Regions from separate parts of the Homo sapiens genome. Here region 2 is linked to region 1. Evidence: promoter capture Hi-C in 16 types of primary human blood cells and fetal thymus (Javierre and others, 2016). All regions are on one chromosome and are shown on one strand. Each heading gives the region's core, a stretch centred on a gene start or on the middle of the fragment in contact. The rest is flanking DNA. Distances are from core to core; before and after follow the strand shown.

The links. Contacts are between HindIII fragments. The CHiCAGO score rates a contact against its expected background, and 5 or more counts as called.
Region 2: a contact is called between the fragment with the promoter of CPB2 here and the fragment with the promoter of LRRC63 in region 1, in 1 of 17 cell types (neutrophils). The highest score is 5.3, in neutrophils.

Annotation. Positions count from the first base shown.
Region 1 is chr13:46,209,494-46,214,116 of GRCh38, reverse strand. LRRC63 (leucine rich repeat containing 63) reads right to left here and starts at 2,189. Exons shown (of 10, transcript NM_001282460.2): 1 at 1,858-2,189; 2 at 998-1,115. The coding sequence starts at 1,082. It overlaps LOC107984578 (a long non-coding RNA gene), which reads left to right and starts at 2,265. Exons shown (of 4, transcript XR_001749863.3): 1 at 2,265-4,222. RefSeq lists a silencer at 2,104-2,433. The HindIII fragment of the contact is 5,320 bases long and covers 1-4,065 here.
Region 2 is chr13:46,102,553-46,107,175 of GRCh38, reverse strand. It overlaps CPB2 (carboxypeptidase B2), which reads left to right and starts at 2,143. Exons shown (of 11, transcript NM_001872.5): 1 at 2,143-2,240. The coding sequence starts at 2,167. The HindIII fragment of the contact is 3,608 bases long and covers 1-2,174 here.

The DNA of each region.
Region 1 (4,623 bases), core at 940-3,439:
ATTGCTTATAATAAGGAGGGAATAGAAACCATACAACAGAAATAGAGGATTAAGCATTAGATAAAGTTATAGTTATAAAAGTGGCTCATCTTTACTTCATAGCACTTATCACAGGGTAATTTTGCATTTACTTATATGATTGATTGATTACAATCAGTATCCCAGTGGGTAACTAATGAAGGGAACAGGTAAGGTCTGTTTTTGCTCACTAAATATATTCGGTCCTTGTTATTTGCAGTAGTTCTGTTCTACAAACAATGAATTACTCATTACTGAACCATTTCTCCTGGAAGAAATATGGGGCTAGGTTCCTGCAAACCTCTGGTTTCAACATTTTCATCAACTGATCAACACTAATTTTGTTTTATATTTGTTTCTATTTAAAGACACTTTAATAAATATAAACAGTTGATTTGTTAACATTGAACTTAGGGCCAACAACACTACTCACACCTGAAGGAAACTTATCTAACACATATCTTGTTCTCTGTAAGGCCCATCACAGCCTTCTTGTGCTCAGGAACACTAGACAGTACTTCAACACTATGCTTGGGGCCCACAGTGAAATCACTAACTAAAAGCACAAACATTCAAGAAACATAGAGCTAAACAGACAGGGAAAACAGTACCCGTTTACAATATGAGAGCTGAAACAAGAAGGTAGAGGTAGCCTTGTTCCACCTCAGCTGGAGGCATGTGTGTTGGGTGACTCATTTTCAGTGCTCTGCACATATCCACGCATGACTGAGAAAGCCCTTTGAGTACCAATTCTGGGGTTACAAGTAAATTTTATCGATGAGATAAACTTGAATCTACTAAGTCCACCAATAAGTATCAGTAAATGCATCTGTGGAATTGAATTGGATGTTATCACCTGACAACAAACATTTGTAAGTTATTAGTGAGTGTATTTATTGTGATTCTGAGCTGTGCAAGTCAAGGAATTTCTATGAAAGATACATAAATGTTAATACACATATCTGATTAATACACATACCTGTATGGGTTTTTTTCTCATGTAAAGACAGCTTAGTGAATTTTGGAGGTAAGGGTCTTCGAAGAAGCAGTGGGGGCTTTTGCATTTTAATGAATAATAAGTGCTGTTTTTCATAATCCTTGGTTTAAATGAGAATTGAAAAGGTTTTGAATATGTTTGAATTGTTGAAAAATAATAAGAATTTAGATTACATCTTAAAGAAAATCATTCTGTACCAATACTCTACTGAATCCAGGCAGAATTCCTTTATGAAAAAAAAAGAGGGTAAGAAAATAATTCTTTAAAACTTCTATTAATAGAAAGAATCCAGTTAAAATGTAGGGTTATAAGTAAACATAGAATTTTAAAAATATGTGTATTATTACTACCCAGGATCATTCTACAATTTTCCATGTTAGTACAAAGTTCAATTTGCCAATGCTATTTCAACTAGTAAATACTGATTTTTCAGAATAGTCGAAATGACATTTTTTTTCTCTCTCTCCAAAATGTTATCGCTATAAATGTAGAAAGAGAATTTGGTCAGAAATGTGTAGAAGATGCCTTCATTAGATAAGCCTCTGAAGACCCACCATATCTAACCATTCACAAACAAATTGTTTTCTTTCTATAATGGCTTGTTTTTCAACCACTATGCTTGGGCCAAAACAATTCAATCCTAAAATAAGATGGGTTTCACTATAATGAGATTTCCCAGGGCTGCTGGATCCCAACTCATACTGTTTAGAAATAATGCGAGAAGATGCACCCCCAAAATGTGCTTTTAGTTTGCAGGGCAACATCAAAAGTGCCTGGCACGGCATTATTCCATTGATAGCCTAGAAGGGAACACCCTGAAACTGCACAAATGGGCCGTTTACCGCCAAAAGATAACTGCACACAAGCGCTCAAGGTGTACTCCCTGGTCATATGTTCCACACGATGCTGGAAATCTCCCTTCCGTAGTACCCAAAGAGGGGCATGGAAGTGCTGGACTCCCACACTACCCTTTAGGATAATCGGCCGCTTTCCAAACCAACTGGCTTTTCGTCTCCTATCTCCTTTTCCTCGGAATCTAGGCAGCGAGGTAAAGGTCCAGCGAGGGTCTTCCTGCAGGAGGCTGTTCCCGAAGAAGCACCACGGATCCCCACCCTCTAGGAGGCCAAGGAGACACACCCTAGCAACCGGGGTCCGCTAAGCCAGCCCAGCCACTTGACGCGCAGGCGCGGGGGCGGGACAGGCGAGGCGGGCGCGGGACAGGCGAGGCGAGGCGGGCGCCGGGAGGGGCAGGCCCAGCCCACGGTGCAGCGCGCGCGGAGCCCTCGCCTTCCTCCGACGCACTGTGGGGCTGCAGGGGAAGCTGCGGGCCGTGGGGGCCGGAGGAGAAGCCGGCTCCACGCGCAGCTGCTGTACGGAACGCCGTGGTGACAATTGTTATTACTATTTTTATGCTTAATGGCAATGACCACTATTATTTATTATTTTCTCTCGATTACAGGATGCTTTACTTGGGTGTCTAGAATATGGGCTGGCATTCTTTAAGGCTGCACTTTTGTGCAGCCGGGTCCCGGGGCTAATTTTGCAGTGCTCTCGAAAAGCGGGCATTCGGTTTTCTTTCTCTTCCTTTCATGCAACCTGTTTTCTCTTTCTGATCCTTTAAAGTTCCTGGCTGAGGCTGGATTGTGTAGAAATAAGGGCATTAGGGATCCAAGCGGGCCATAAAAGAAACCCATTTCTCACTGTCATCGTCCTCTGTTCTGGTTATCATATTGTGACGTGTCGCCTCTGTCATGGTGTTGATGAACCTGTGTGTGCAGTCATAGATACATCGTGTGTGTTTGCAAAAATGTGCGTGTTTCTCTGGAGATTTGAGGGGGAAAGAGCACTAGAAAGAGCTCATCTGATAGATGCGGAAATCCGAACTCAGAAAGTAAACTAGGTAGAGCTTCCTTCCAGGTTTGGTTTTTTCTAAGTACTAGCGCAGGAACTTTATAACAGAAGTTGGAAAATGAGAGACTTCTGTATAAATCTTTCTAGCTTTGGGGATCTTTCAAGATTCACACCATAACCATGTCTTCCTTTTTCTCCTTAGTAGCAAACATGTTTTAAAACAATCAATGAAAAAAGTAGAAAAGTTTTAACAAAAAAGTAATCAGACTCTGGAAAATATTATGCAACTTGTTTTCCTTTACAGTAGTAGTGTACTGTTTCTTTTCCTTGTAAGTTTACTGTGTCCCAATTATACTGCTGCCCCAGACTATGAATTTATTTCCACTTTTGCTGTTATCTACACCATAGATTCATTAGTTTCTCAGAAATACAAAGCTGAAAATAAAAGGCAGCTCTGTGGCTAAGATTAGTCTCAAGTAATATATATCGTGCATATTTTGTAAATGTGAAAAAAGGTTTATATTTTTAAGCATAAAAAATGACAGTGTAAATTGAGTCAGGTACCTATGCTCTTCAAGATCGTTGGAACCATGAGAACTACAGGAATTCAGTTTTACTGACTGACGTTTGGCCTTTAAAATTTATGCTTAGCTTTGTGTAGTCGAAAGCAAGGCTTCTGAATGCTTTTTCAAAAAATGCTTTGTCACACTTGGAATCCGCAGGCATCCAGGTATCATTCCTTGCAGATTTCTTCTAGCAAGTATGAGACTAAAACCTAGGGCGGTTTAATATGTAATCTCAGGTGTGAACATTTTGTCTTCTATTTCTACCACTTAGTACCAAACATTTAGGCAAATGAGATAGTTATTATGAAAATTAAATCCATGGCTTGGTATATTTTATATGTATATATGTTATTCTAACACATCTGACTCGCTTTGTCTATGGAAATGATATATCAGTATAGGATGAGTTTAGACAGGACAAACAAAATTCAATTTAGATTATTTTATAGTTCTTATATTTTTGAAAATATTATCCCCTCAATTTTCTTTCTTCTTTTGTAAAATAACGTGTTTTTGAAATAATGAATAACTCCCTTTTGGATTTTAAGGGTCTGCTTTTTCTGATGTATGTACGGTCAGCCTATTTATTTGTTCCGTCCCCTTTGCAGTTTGGCAGAACCTTATGAAGAAGCTTCCCAAACTGAACCACAGTGCTTTCACTCTATTAGCAAATTGTACTAAAGATGCCAGCGTAATGATGAGTGCCAAGGTTATAGACATCCTGCATTTTTTAAATGTTGCTAAAATGAGATAAAAGCCTTATGCAGAAGCAACCGCAGGCACCCCGCAGGTAATGCTATCGATTTCCCTAATAAGTGGGAAACGCTTGGGGAACCTTAGATTTGCTGTTGGTTCTGTTGAAATGGTGGAAGTGATGTGAAAAGTGTTGCTAGACAACTTCATTATTTTCCATAGACCTATCTCTTATTTATTTATTTCCCTTTAAAATAGGACAGAGGTTTGCTAAACAGTTTGGCCATTGTAGTTTTAACCTAATATTTTACCTTATGGAAATAATGGAGTAATTTGTGTTTTTATGTTCATATTAATTTTTTTAAGTACTGTTAAAGAATGAATAGTTATTTTTGAGCACATATTTGTTCAACTACTGAGTCTCCAGAGTAACACAGGGCACTAAAATGCTTTTGAGAAAGAAGTGTTTTATTGGTCTGAATTTACCTGTTTATATTA
Region 2 (4,623 bases), core at 894-3,393, 110 kb after region 1:
TCTGAGAAGCACCAAGGATAAAGATAATCCCTTAAAAGTTATCAAGGAGAAAGGACAGCTAAACTGCAAGGGAACAACAATTACCTGGGCAGCAGATTCCTACCATGCAACAGGAAATGTCAAACAACAATGACGCATCCGTCACACTCGAATATTACATTCAGCTAAACTAGTACTTGAAAGTGAAGGCAAAAGAAAGTTATTGTTAAAGATACAGAGCATAAAAGATTTTATCACCTGTAGACTTTTGCTATAGGAACTTTTAAAAGATTGCTTCAGCAATAAGAAATGTAATTTAAAATTTATTGTTTTTTATGCACTCTGTTTCTTTTGTATCCTGTTTCTGTTTCCCCAGAGAGGAAACAGGACATAAAATAAAGAAGAAACACAGATACAAAATAAGTAGCACAAAAATTGATAGAATTTATTAGCATATTTTAACTATTTTGACTGTTTGTTTTAAAGTTAACTTTTATGTTAAAAAGATAAGGTAAAAGTTACTTGGGTTAGTTTTTCTTTCTCTCCTTCAGTGTGATTATGTTATTCATTTGAAACACAGGTTCGTTTTTGTTTGTATTATTTTTTAAAATTTATTTGTTTGCTTGTTTTAAGTACATATGTGAAAAGAACATGGTTCTAAAATTCAGAGTAGTTCTAAAGTTCAGAACTATTCAAAACACTTCACCCAAAGAAGCGTCCCTCCCTGTCTCTTCTACCCTGTCTTTTCCAGTGTGTTTCCACTCACCTCCCGTGGATAACCAGTCTCATTGATTTCTAATCTATCCTTCTTATGTTTCTTTCTCCACATATGAGCAGACACACACATATTTTCTTATTTCTTCTTCTTTCTTATACAACAAGTGGTTACAGTGGAGGTCACTTTAATTCATTAAATATCATTCAATAGTTTTAAATCTCAAAAGGAAAAGTTTGAAATCTCAATCATTTTCTTCTGGCCAGGCACGATGGCTCACGCCTGTATTCCCAGCACTTTGGAAGGCAGAGGCAGGTGGATCTCCTGAGCTCAGGAGTTTGAGACCATCCAGTGCAACATGGTGCAACCCTGTCTCTACTAAAAATACAAAAAAAATTAACTGGGTGTGGTGGGGCACACCTCTAGTCCCAGCTACTTGGGAGGCTGAGGCAGGAGAATTGCTTGAGCCCCAGAGGTGAAGGTTGCAGTGAGCCAAGATCACGCCTCTGCACTCCAGCTTGGGCTACAGAGTGAGACTCTGTCTCAAAAAAAAAAAAAAAAAAAGAAAAGAAAAAAGAAAAAAAATCATTTTCTTCTCAGAAGTTAATTGTGGGCAGGCTGATTTATTTTGCAAATTTGCCAATTCTGACTTCAAGAACATTCAAGTGCATTAACCAATGGGAATGTAGGGGAAGAGGGCTCCACTCACTTACAGAGGGTAGGATATGGCCTCATACTAGACAAAATGTTATTTGATGCTACTTTCAAGATGATAGGGGATGGGCCTGGATTTAATTGATGGCTATTATGGTGACCTTTAAATAAATGAGATTCAAAGTAACCTGATGTCTTTACTGCTTGAACCAGCTTCCATGAAATAGTATTCCTATTGGGGGTGGGCCTATCATTCCATATGGTCAAGGAAACATCTTTTTGAACAGAGATCCTGTAATCATCCTTACAAACTGCACTTCAACATTGGATTGGATTAGCCAGATTTGAGGAACTCACTTTTTACATCTTCATAAATTTAAAATGTTGAAAAAGTCAGAGGCAAGGGAAGACATTTATAGTACTTCACGGTAGATCTCCCTCAACATGGGCTATATATCCATTAGTCAATATTCTATAGCTATTGTTCTGCAATAAACCAGACAAGATCCTACTGTATTACTACCCTTTTATTCTTGGCCCTACCTTCCCCAAGGAGTTACACATTTTCTAGATAGTCTAAATTAAGAGCAACTCTCATCATACTCTTTTTGAGTGTTTAATTATCAAGCAACAGCCTAACTAAGCCAATAATATTTCTCTTTTTGGGAGTGGAAATGGAAGCTAAGTTGATTGACCCACAGGAACAAGAGGGAACATGCCGTTATATTTTAACCAGTGTGTAAAGAAGGCTGTTATGCAATCAATGATCTGGGTTTTTCTCTTCAGAGAAATTTGTTGTACAGAAAATTGCTGTTGGGATGAAGCTTTGCAGCCTTGCAGTCCTTGTACCCATTGTTCTCTTCTGTGAGCAGCATGTCTTCGCGTTTCAGAGGTAACCCAATAGAATCTTAGACTGTGGTGGGCCACTCTCCTCACTTGTTTGCCTCATGTCGTGTCAAGTCAGTGCACTGAGCTGGTGGACAAAATGGTAAACTTTGAAGGCCAGGTCTTTCAGAACTTTCCAAGTTGCCCTGACAAATAAGTAGACTTTAGCACAATGGGCTATCACTAAAGACAGGGTCTTTTTTCTTTCCTGGCTCTGGTTTTATTATTGGGAGAACCTTGGATGATACGCATATCCAGTGACTATGGAGATTCAAGAAATTAAATCTTTTATAAACGTAACTATTTATACTCTAACTTGATGTATGATTCATATTCTTCCTGTCTTCACATAAAAAAAGTTAACTATGGATCATTTATTTTCCCCTTGTACATGGAACATAGGAGGAAGAAGAGGGTGAAGTGTTAAATAGGAGGTTTGGATCATGCATGATTATTTAGCATGGAATATGAAAGGAAGAAGAGTTGTGTGATAAAGAACTATTATCTGATTCTTATTTTGCTTAGTAGATTCCCTTAGGATAAACTATCTAGAAGAACACAAATGAATTCATGCTATAGCACATGCAATGCATGGAGAAAATAGTTCCAGGGTATATGTAATGTAATTTATTAAGTAGTCAATTTTTAGGCTTTAAAACATTGATATTGTTTCCTTTGGAATTATCTTATTTTTTCCCCTTTGTTTTGGTTCTATGATCGCTTTCTCCTCCAATTATCTTTGAGACAGATCCCTCTCCTCATGTTAGTAAATGACAAAGAAAGAAGAGACATAGGGCAAAGGAATATACCAGTGACAAGGAACATTCTACCACCAAAAAAATGTTCACGGTCATAAATAACCATAGGACAATGGTTTGGAAAATAGATCTTGACTTGTGAGCCTGAAGCTGTGTTTGTACATGATCACTGAACTGATTATAGTTGATTGATCTTCTTTTGTTCAACATGATTGTCGAATGTCGAGCAACAAATTCTATCATAAAATGATATTATTTTTGTTATTTAATTGACGTGGGGGTCAAGATTGCTGCAATGATCAGTGACTTATGTCTTTCTCTGTATTTTATCGGTGAATCATATGGTCAGGATTTCTAAGGTTCTTGCTAGTTCTAATATTCCATAACTTGATAATTGGCTTCAGTTAAGGGAAAGGGGGAGAAGAGAAAAATTGGTATCAACATGTCCAACTTGGCTACTGTACACAGTGGCAGTACCATTGACAGTTAGGGGAAAGGGAGGAAACCTCTGCTTATTTAGTGCCTGTGTTTGTGCCAGGCACTGAACTAGTCACTTAGAAATGTTATCTCTTTAAATGCATAAAATCCTACATGCTAGGAATCTTTACTGACATTTTACAAAGGAGGAAACTGAGCCTCAGGAAGAATAAATAATTGGCCCAAGATCAAACAGTAAATGTAGAGCTTGGATTCAAACCCACTTTAGCCTCATTTCAACTCCATGCACTGGACAGCATTGCCTCCATAAAATCTGGAAATTAGGAAGAGAGCCAGTTTGAAGGAAGGTCAGATTTAGTCAAAGGGAGTTGCAGGCAGCAGTTGGTTTGGAAAGTAGCTTGGAAGAGAGGTTCGGGATTAGAGGTTCAGTCTCATGGTTCTCACCCACTAGCAGATCTAATCATGGCCTTGGCGTCAGCCCAGTGCAATTATCCTCAGCTGGTTGTTGCAGAGGTTGGCGGGCAGGTGGGCTCACTGCAGACCGCCATCTTGATCGTAGAGTAACCCAAACTCTTGGATAGGATAATCAATAGCAAAACACACTAAAAGCTTTAGCACATCTCTTCAAATGAGTACGTGTATAGCAGCTTAGTGACACTAAATATAACGCAAATAGAAGAAGTAGCCAACAATAAAATAGTAAAAAAATGAGTGAGAACATATCTTCATGCATGGGCTTTGTTACTATTTGTTGCTTCAGCTTATACTCTGAAATCTGACTGATACTTATGCTTGAAAAAAGGAATGAGAATGTGACTATATTTTAACCAAAGAATATCACATTAAAAATATTTAATACTTTTGCATACTGCGAGGGTCCCTTTGCAGAGGAGAGGAGGTAGGAGGACCTCAGTATTGTAGACAGATGAATATCTGAATCCTGGTTCCCATCCCTTCACTGGAAATAACATTGCAAACTACTCTTTCTGTGAGTAAAAATAAATTTTTTTACCAAATGTTTCTGTGCTCCACTTTTCCAGGAATGGCCTATTCCTGAAGCTAAAAAGGAAATCTAATTTCATTCAGGGCAACAGACTTTGATAAATTGTTGCTGGGGTTCAGAATATCAACCCTTCTAAAAAAAAAAAAAAAAACTAACAGTCTGGCTTTTTCTTAAAGCTGTTCTTTGTTTTT